Linked DNA regions of Homo sapiens: region 2 is linked to region 1. Evidence: promoter capture Hi-C in 16 types of primary human blood cells and fetal thymus (Javierre and others, 2016). All regions are on one chromosome and are shown on one strand. The core of a region is centred on a gene start or on the middle of the fragment in contact, and the rest is flanking DNA. Distances in the headings are between cores, read along the strand shown. Region 1 holds the start of SEMA4G (semaphorin 4G). Region 2 overlaps HIF1AN (hypoxia inducible factor 1 subunit alpha inhibitor).

What was found. The method cuts DNA at HindIII sites, captures the fragments that hold promoters and counts their contacts. A CHiCAGO score of 5 or more calls a contact.
Region 2: a contact is called between a fragment that was not itself captured here and the fragment with the promoter of SEMA4G in region 1, in 1 of 17 cell types (M1 macrophages). The highest score is 5.1, in M1 macrophages.

Annotation. Positions count from the first base shown.
Region 1 is chr10:100,967,925-100,972,294 of GRCh38, forward strand. It overlaps SEMA4G (semaphorin 4G), which reads left to right and starts at 1,580. Exons shown (of 15, transcript NM_017893.4): 1 at 1,580-1,667. RefSeq lists a silencer at 1,537-1,596. The HindIII fragment of the contact is 3,455 bases long and covers 1-3,434 here.
Region 2 is chr10:100,544,040-100,548,288 of GRCh38, forward strand. HIF1AN (hypoxia inducible factor 1 subunit alpha inhibitor) reads left to right here. Exons shown (of 8, transcript NM_017902.3): 4 at 912-1,057; 5 at 1,904-2,010; 6 at 2,479-2,542; 7 at 3,101-3,211; 8 at 4,054-4,249. The coding sequence ends at 4,098. Among named protein-coding and RNA genes, the nearest start is that of HIF1AN, 10 kb to the left of the region's middle. The HindIII fragment of the contact is 4,435 bases long and covers 734-4,249 here.

The DNA of each region.
Region 1 (4,370 bases), core at 330-2,829:
GCCAATGGTATTTCCCCTTCTGGCTTACCCTGCTTCCTCCTTCTCAGACTTTTCCAGTCTTGATTGTCCTCTCCATAAACACAAGAATGAACTTCAAGGCAAGTTACTTAATGTCTTAGAGCCTGTTTCCCCATCCATAAAATGGGGCTATAAATTCCTCAGGATGGGATGAGGGTACAAATAAAAAATGAAGCAGGATATTCTTTGTAAAAGTGTGTGTACATTTTTTATTGTGTTTCTCCCCAGCTACCTTCCCTCTCCCCGCCACACACATCCTATTTGCAGAGTGTTGGGGGAGGTGGAACTGTGATGTGGGCCCTGCTGTCTAGCAGTCTGCAGTCACACACAGCCATCCAAACTACGAGATTGTATATGATTCAGTGCCAAACTGTGAGCTTTGGGGAATCCAGAAAGAAGGATGAAGCCTTTCCCAAGTTTCCTTTAGTTAAATGTGCCACTTGAATCCTGTTCTGACTCCTAGGCACATGCAAGAGTCAATCACATATGTTCCTGTGGCCTTTATCATTTTGGTCCATCTCTTGAGCCCACATGAATACTGTCATGGATGGAGGAGGAAGGACCAGGCTGGGTCAGGGCCTGAATGCAGGTTTTGTTTGGACTATAGGGGCTAAGTTCACTTTAATAGGCTGTGACCTATTAAAGGAGGCAGGAACCAAGTTTGCACAGAAGGACCATCCTAGTTGAGTTAAAGGAGTTGGGGAGTTGATTGTGAGGGGTTTCCTAGATTGCTGCTGGGTAAGGTGATTGAATCTGGGAAGGATAGGGTACTTGATTGCCTAGAAGGGTGCACTCTAAGTTCTGGATAAGAATGGTGCCCAAGATGAGCTGGAGGGGAAGGCAAGTGTTTGAATGACCCAGTCCCTGAGGTGAGCCTAGGTTAGGGTTAAGATTTGGTGAGTGAACAGGTGCAAACGCTTGTGGCTTATTTATCCAGAAAAAGCATTTTCTGTGTGCCTTTCAGGTCAGGCTGTTACTTTATCCCCTTCAGGCCTGACCCCATCTCCCCCACGCATAGCTCAAGCTGAACAGCCCCTGAAGCTGGGAATCAAGCCCCTACCTTGTGTTCAGAGCTTCCCTAACGTCCAGTCGCCACCTAGGGTAGCCTTCCCTCCACACCCTAGGCCGAGAGCAGAAGCGGGTGGCAGGAGCACAGGGAGTGAGGTCCAGGTTAGAGGACAGGCCAGAAGGCCCTCCGAGAGGGTCCCCCAACCCCGCAACGCCAGGACAGGTTTGCACGTCCCCAGCAGTAGGCAAGTCAGGGGGGTCCTAGGGTTACAGCGGAGGAGAGGACGGGCTATAAGCATGTGGAGGGTGCACGGGGTGGCGAGGCCACCACCAGGGGGCGATTTCAGGGCCGCAGCGCCTAGAGGTGGGGGGTCGCCCGATGGCCGAAGGCTGTGTGTGAGCCTCGCCCTCAAACCGCCTCTATTGTGCTAGAGTAGGGGGCGCAAAGAAGAGAGTGGCGACCTTCCCCTCACCCCACCCAGTCGGCCCCGCCTTTCAGGACCCCGCCCCACCCCCGGCTCCGCCTCCACCACCCCCCCCCCGCCCCGCCTCCAGCCGCGGCCCCTTCCTCTCGCAGCTGGTGCTGTGGGGCCGCGGAGCCGCGCGTCGCTGTCTCTATGGCCCCGGATCCGAGCGCAAAGGTGAGCAAGGCGAGGAGTGCGGGCGGCGCCCTGGCGTGAGCCTGGGGCTGCGGGCCGGGGGTCGGGCAAGGCCTCCCCCACGTCCATTCTACCCTCCAAGCTGGGCCAGGCCTTTCTCACCACCAAGTCCCCCGGTCCTGCATGACGGCTCTAGAGGGGCGCGGGCCAGGCCTCGGGCTGCGCGGGGTGCAAACCGGCCACCACGGAGTCGGGGACCAGCGCGGGGAGGGGGCCGCGTGGCGAACAGTGTTCCCCAGGATCTGGGTCACGTCTCCCGGCGTCCGGCGGGATCGAAGGAGAGCTTGTCCTCGAGCTGCAGCAGTAGAGACTGAGGTTAGACCTGACGAAGGGAGAGGACCGCGGACTGTCCAGGATGTTGGAGGGAGGGGGTCCCGGGGGAGGGGCTCTCTCAAGCCAGGAGAGACCGCCATCCTACTAGGCAGAGGGAAATACCGCCTACACTAGGCAGGTGGACATCTGGGATGAAGGTCGAGAGCCTGCTGATCCTCCATTGATCCTGTTTGAAGGGTCTCTCCTCCCCAGTTCCCTCCACCCCAAGATCTAATAGAGGAAAGGTGATCAGAGTTCAGGGGGCTGGCCCTGGGGAAGAACCCGAACTGTGGAACTTGGGGTGGAGTGTGGGGCGTGGACTGGAGACCTTAAACCCGTACTTCGCCACTGAAGGGAGGGGTGATATGCTCCGCCCCGCCCACTTAGCCCCGCCCCCTCCCACAGGTTAAGTGGGGGCTGAGAGCTCCAGCCCGTCTCCCACCTTTAGAACCGCAATATACATAGGGGTGGAGGAGTACTAAATTATGCGTTCCATTCCATCTTTGCTGAAGCTAGGGGCCTCCTCCTGCCTGAGTTACTTTCCCATTCCCTCCCTTGTAGAGCGGCCTTGACTCATGCACCCATCCCATCTGCCCATCCAAGGTCAGAAGCCTCCCCCATCACCACACACACACACACACACAACCCCCTCACCACCCCCACACACAAACACACACTTGAAATTGGGCCTTAGAATTGGGACTTTCAGGAACAGAGGCAGGGTTCTGCTCTGCATCTCACCCCAGTGGACACTGGCAGCCTCCAAGCCTATGGCAAAAACTGGACCCCTGTATGCATGTGTGCTTGTCTCTGCATGGATGTAGTTGTGTGTTCAAGAACTGCGTGTGAGCACACATGTACTTGACCCTTCTGTGAACATGATTGCCTGGCCCACTATATCAATGGGTTTGTGTGCATGTCCCTACACATACATGTGTATGTATAGGACCCTCCTGTTGAATAGGTGCACAGTCCTTGACACAAACCCACATGTGTGGGTTTATCTCTCCTCAATGTCTGAGGCTGTGTGACCTGCTGAATGGATGGGCATGTAAATTCAACGTCACATGTGAATATGTATGATTACCTGTGGCTGTGGCCCTCTGTATGAGCATATGTGTGCACAAAACTCCCTGTGAGTATATGTGTGAATGACCCCTGTGAATCCACGTGTTCACAGTCCTCCTTGTGAACATGTGTGTGTGTGTGTGTGTGCACCCATGTGCATGTATATCACCTTCCTAATAGTCACCCATGTGACTCTTAAACTATAAGTGTGACATGCACCACACTGAGTGGCTCCTCTAACCTGGGGCATGTTCCTCCTAGCCATAGTGCTCCCCACACACATGCCTTTTGCACTGAGCAAATAGGAGGTCCCAAAGGTAAACAGGTGTGCCTCCACAGGGAGGGGTGGGGCATGGCCGGCTTGCCTGAAGCTTCCTGCTGTCCCAGATCCCAAACAGGGAGCCTATGCCCTTTCAGGGTCAGGGAATCCTCTTCTCTCCCTTTCATATTTGACTCTACCCCTCAGGGCTCTGCCCCTGCAGTGCTGACCTTTACCTCTTGAATAATTGCTCCTGTTATCCCTCTGGCCAGTTCCTGATTCCTCCCCTCTTTCCAAGGCCAGATAGTTAATATTTGACCTGGGAGAGGAGGCACCAGTGGCACCCTCTGGCCCTGCCTGTGGGTGGCTGATGAGATGGAATGTATTAGGTCTCTCCACACCTCACCCAGCCCAGGAACTCTTCAAGGAACCCCTTGGTGATTAGGAGGCCTGTTACAGGGGTTGGGAGAGGCCTGCCACCCACCCCCATCCCATCCCCAACTGGTTGGCTTGAGGGAGGGTCCAAGATGTGTCGGGAGGGGCCAAGGGCTCAGGGATCCCATCATTTACCTTCTTCACGTTGCTTATGTCTCAACTGGCCTTGCACACTACAGCCTTCTGCACAGACATTATACCTGTGCAACCAGGGGGATCCTAGGTACCCACCCCAATGCCTGTGAATGCCTACTTGCAGATAGGGACACGTGTGGATGCCTAGCCAGAGGGTGCAATACAGACTGGCGTGGGCAGAGATGTGCACCCCCTTGGAGAGGAATACCAAGAAGTTATAATTAAAGAGAAATTCCAGAGGGAGCTCTCAGGCCAGGGAAAAGAAAAAACAAAGGGAAAGCAGGACAAAATAAACAAAGGTCCATTAAACCTCTCTGGTTAGGCCCTCCTGCATAAGGCACCCCCGCAGGCAGCAGGGGCAGCTGCTGACCGAGTTGCATCTCATTGTTGGGAGAAGCAGGCATTCTCTCCAAGAACCCCAGCTCCTTTGACTTGAGGGCCTAGTGGAGCTTCTGACTTGGCCAGAAGAGGGTCAT
Region 2 (4,249 bases), core at 1,701-4,200, 420 kb before region 1:
ATTGTCTAAATTCCATGCCCTGCAAAAGTGTGTGTTCAACTCATGGACTGTGCAAAGGCCAAACAACACACGTGGTCCTAGTTAGAAAGGAGTAGATGGAACATACACTAGGGCACAACTAATTCAAGGTGGCATTTAAAATAATGTGCCATATTTAAATTACACAGCACTCTCTTCAGTCATCTGATATTCTTTCCTCCAATGAAAATCACTTGCACCAGTGAGCCCCAATGTTGCTTTAAGAAGTGTTGTCTTGGCTAGATGTGGTGGCTCACGCCTGTAATGCTAACACTTTGGGAGGCTGAGGTGGACAGGTCACTTGAGCCCAGAAGTTGGAGACCAGCCTGGGCAACGTGGTGAAACCCCATCTCTTAAAAAAACAAGTATTGCATTCGTTAGGTGTATTGAAGTGGGAGGAAAGGTTGAGAATCTTTGAGTTCCACAGAGCTACCCAAAATAAATACAGAGCTACATAATCATACAACTTAGAATGACTGGTTAACTCCTCATGTATATGTTGTTGATACCAGTCATTTCTGTTTTGCTTTCCTTGAATTCCTGCCGTAGTCAAGAAGAGTACACGGTGTACACAGTTGATTACCCTACCTGATTTTTGAGGATCATTTTGATGTGCTCTTGCTTCCAGTAAGGGCAGCAGCCTTCATTTAGGGAAGTTGACTTAGCTGATAGTGGACCCTTAACCAGTGATGTTTGCTAGAGTTATTACCATACAAGCTTAACACCTAATTTTCTGAGAGTTGTAATTGGAATTTCCCTGATTCTGCCTAAATTTTGATTTGGAACTTTTAGCTGGGAGGGCAGGCTGGGTTTCTCTTTAGCACTGGGTCCTGTATTCCAGCTTATGCAATAGAACCACTGCTCTGCATAAGAAAATGCCTTTCTTCTTACAGGAAATGTGACACCTGCTCACTATGATGAGCAGCAGAACTTTTTTGCTCAGATAAAAGGTTACAAACGATGCATCTTATTCCCTCCGGATCAGTTCGAGTGCCTCTACCCATACCCTGTTCATCACCCATGTGACAGACAGAGCCAGGTGAGCTTGTGTGGTCTGAGAAGGGTATAGAACTCTAGATTCTAGTAATGCCTAGGCTGGAATGTCTTTCCCCTTCCCCGTAGTGATATGCCAGGTTCGGATTACAGGCTGTTCTTGCCTTAACACACCAAGAGGGTAATTTCATTGTAGCTCACATATTCCAGGCTCCCTGGAGTGGCCACCAGATGTTTGTAAGTATAACTAGCCCCACAGAGCTAATTCTCAGGACAGACACTGTCATTGATGCTGATGGACTCTGGTTACTCTGTTTGATTGGCTTATAAGTTTATGGAACAAAATGTGTATGTCTCCATTGGATTTAATCATTGTTTGCTTTTGTCATGGATGCTATTTCTTTTTGATAAGAAGGGTGAATAAAACTGAGCTATGTTGTTTAATGTATTTCCTAGATCTAAATGAGGTATGTGGTTAACTGTGGCCAGCCAAAGATATCCTTTCCTTTCTTCAGAAAGCTGTCTAGCTACTTCATGTGGGAGTCTTTGCTGGTTAGAATATGTTTTTGGGAAAAGTTTCTGAAGGTTTAGGTGGAGGATAATTCCTAATTCCTCATATCCTCAGCTGTGGAGTAGGTCGTCTGACCTCAGGAGCACTGAAGCCTAGGATTCTTTATCACTTAACATTCAAATGTGGACTGTCTTATATTGTTCTCTCTCAGGGTTTAATGTGCATTATATCTTCTGCTGGATATAAATTCCAAATACTTTTTTTAAGGCATCGTTTTTTTTTTGTTTGTTTGTTTGTTTTTACTGCCAAACTGGCATATAGTAGTTTTACTGGTGAAGATTTGGTGATTGATATTTTTTTTCTTTCTCTTGAACCTCTTAGGTGGACTTTGACAATCCCGACTACGAGAGGTTCCCTAATTTCCAAAATGTGGTTGGTTACGAAACAGTGGTTGGCCCTGGTGATGTTCTTTACATCCCAATGTACTGGTGAGAAGGGGGCTAGGGCTGGGGGCTTTTTGGGAGCTTTCTTTTCCATTCCCTGGAAAGCCTTGTCTGTGTCGCTTCTGAGTTATGGCATGATTGGTTTTATGTGGTCTATAGGAAGGTTGGCATATCCAGACATGAGCGTACTGAACCTGTGGGGGATAGTGGCGGGAATGATAGCCCTGTCTCTAGGACAGGATGACGGTTCTTCAAGTCCAAAGAGATTCCGGAGGCTTGAGCCTAGAAAAACTGTTCTTGGCTCTTTGGTATTTCGAGACTGAACACCAGTACCTCTAACCCCCAAGTGTGTGTTTTTTTCACAGGATGAGTGTAAAGATATTGTCTTCACTATTTTCCGTAACTGGACTCCACCTAGTTTTTCAGCCCAACCCTGCCACCCCCCCGCACTTCGCCCCTCCGCCCCCGCCAAAAGTATCAGTAGTAAACAGGAGCCTGTTTGTTTTCTTGCAGGTGGCATCACATAGAGTCATTACTAAATGGGGGGATTACCATCACTGTGAACTTCTGGTATAAGGTGAATATGGTTTGCTTTTTTTGTTTTTTCCAGATGGAACTGGCTCTTGGGTGAGGTAGGTATAATAAATGATTTTGGATGGGATGGTTGACTATCCCTGGAAGTGATTGTCAGGTGTCTGGGGAGATGAAAGGGACAGGATTGAATTGGGTTTCTTTTTTTTAAATATATTTTTTGAGACAGAGTCTTGCTCTATTCCCCAGGCTGGAGTGCAGTGGCGTGATCTCGGCTCACTGCAACTTCTGCCTCCCGGGTTCAAGTGATTCTCCTGCCTCAGCCTCCCGAGTAGTTGGGATTATAGGCACACACCACCATGCCTGGCTAATTTTTGTATCTTTAGTAGAGATGGGGTTTCACCATGTTGGCCAGGCTGGTCTCAAACTCCTGACCTCAAGTGATCCACCCGCCTCGGCCTCCCAAAGTGCTGGGATTATAGGCCTGAGTCACCGTGCCCGGCAAGAATTGGGTTTCTTAGAAGGGAGGATGGTACTAAGAACAGTAGAGTGACACTGACGCCTGCTGCTAAAGGCATTTCCTGAGCTACTGCTTCCTTTGTAGGGGGCTCCCACCCCTAAGAGAATTGAATATCCTCTCAAAGCTCATCAGAAAGTGGCCATAATGAGAAACATTGAGAAGATGCTTGGAGAGGCCTTGGGGAACCCACAAGAGGTAGGTGACTGCCCCAAGGTGGCTCAGTGGGTGGGTTGACCAAGGAAAGTCAGGATCAGAGCGACATTCTTTACAGCTTCTGTGTTTCAGTGTCTGGTGTCCTCTCTCTCCATAGAGGTTATGGGTATGTTCAGAAAAATTCTTGTTTTCTGGTGATAGCTGGGCTTGACTGGCAGATCAATTATAATTAGTTCCATGCTAGTAGTAATGTTCCCCATGGGTATTATGTACCATCTGGGGACCCCCTGAGGGGATTCTTCTGGAACAGGAAGCGAGCACTAACACATCTCCTTGCACTTTCCCAGCTGTGCCAGGGCTGCTGTAGGTAATGTTGAGAGACCTGCTTCCCATGCAGGTGTGCCAGTGGCCCATTGGGTAAATGGGGGAGGTTTGTATTTGTAGGGTTCTTGCTTGCCTCTTGGAGGTAACCTCAGCATCCACAGACACCTGTGGTGTTGGGAGATAGCATCAGCCCCAGTTGCAGATGATCATTTTTTGAGGATATGGAGGCAGTTAACATTCTGGAGAAACATATAGACACTCTTGGGTGTTCGGGGATTATTAGCTTCTCTGACCATGTCTGTCCGTTTGGGGCAGATTACGGTAAGAGACGGTGTTGTGCGAGAGAAGAATAATAGTACAAGATGGACCCCTGAGGGAAAGACTATGTCCCAGAATACTGGGTTGACCTTCAGGAAGATAGGTGATTAGAGGATTCACAAGATTGTATGAAAACATTGTCTCTGTCCTTGGCTGGACATCTGATGTCTCCAGACACACCCTGTCCAATTCCAGGGCCAGGGAACAGCCAGTTCTGATTGGCTCCTCATGTTTCTTTACAGGTGGGGCCCTTGTTGAACACAATGATCAAGGGCCGATACAACTAGCCTGCCAGGGGTCAAGGCCTCCTGCCAGGTGACTGCTATCCCGTCCACACCGCTTCATTGATGAGGACAGGAGACTCCAAGCGCTAGTATTGCACGCTGCACTTAATGGACTGGACTCTTGCCATGGCCCAGGAGTCAGGTGTTTGGAGCG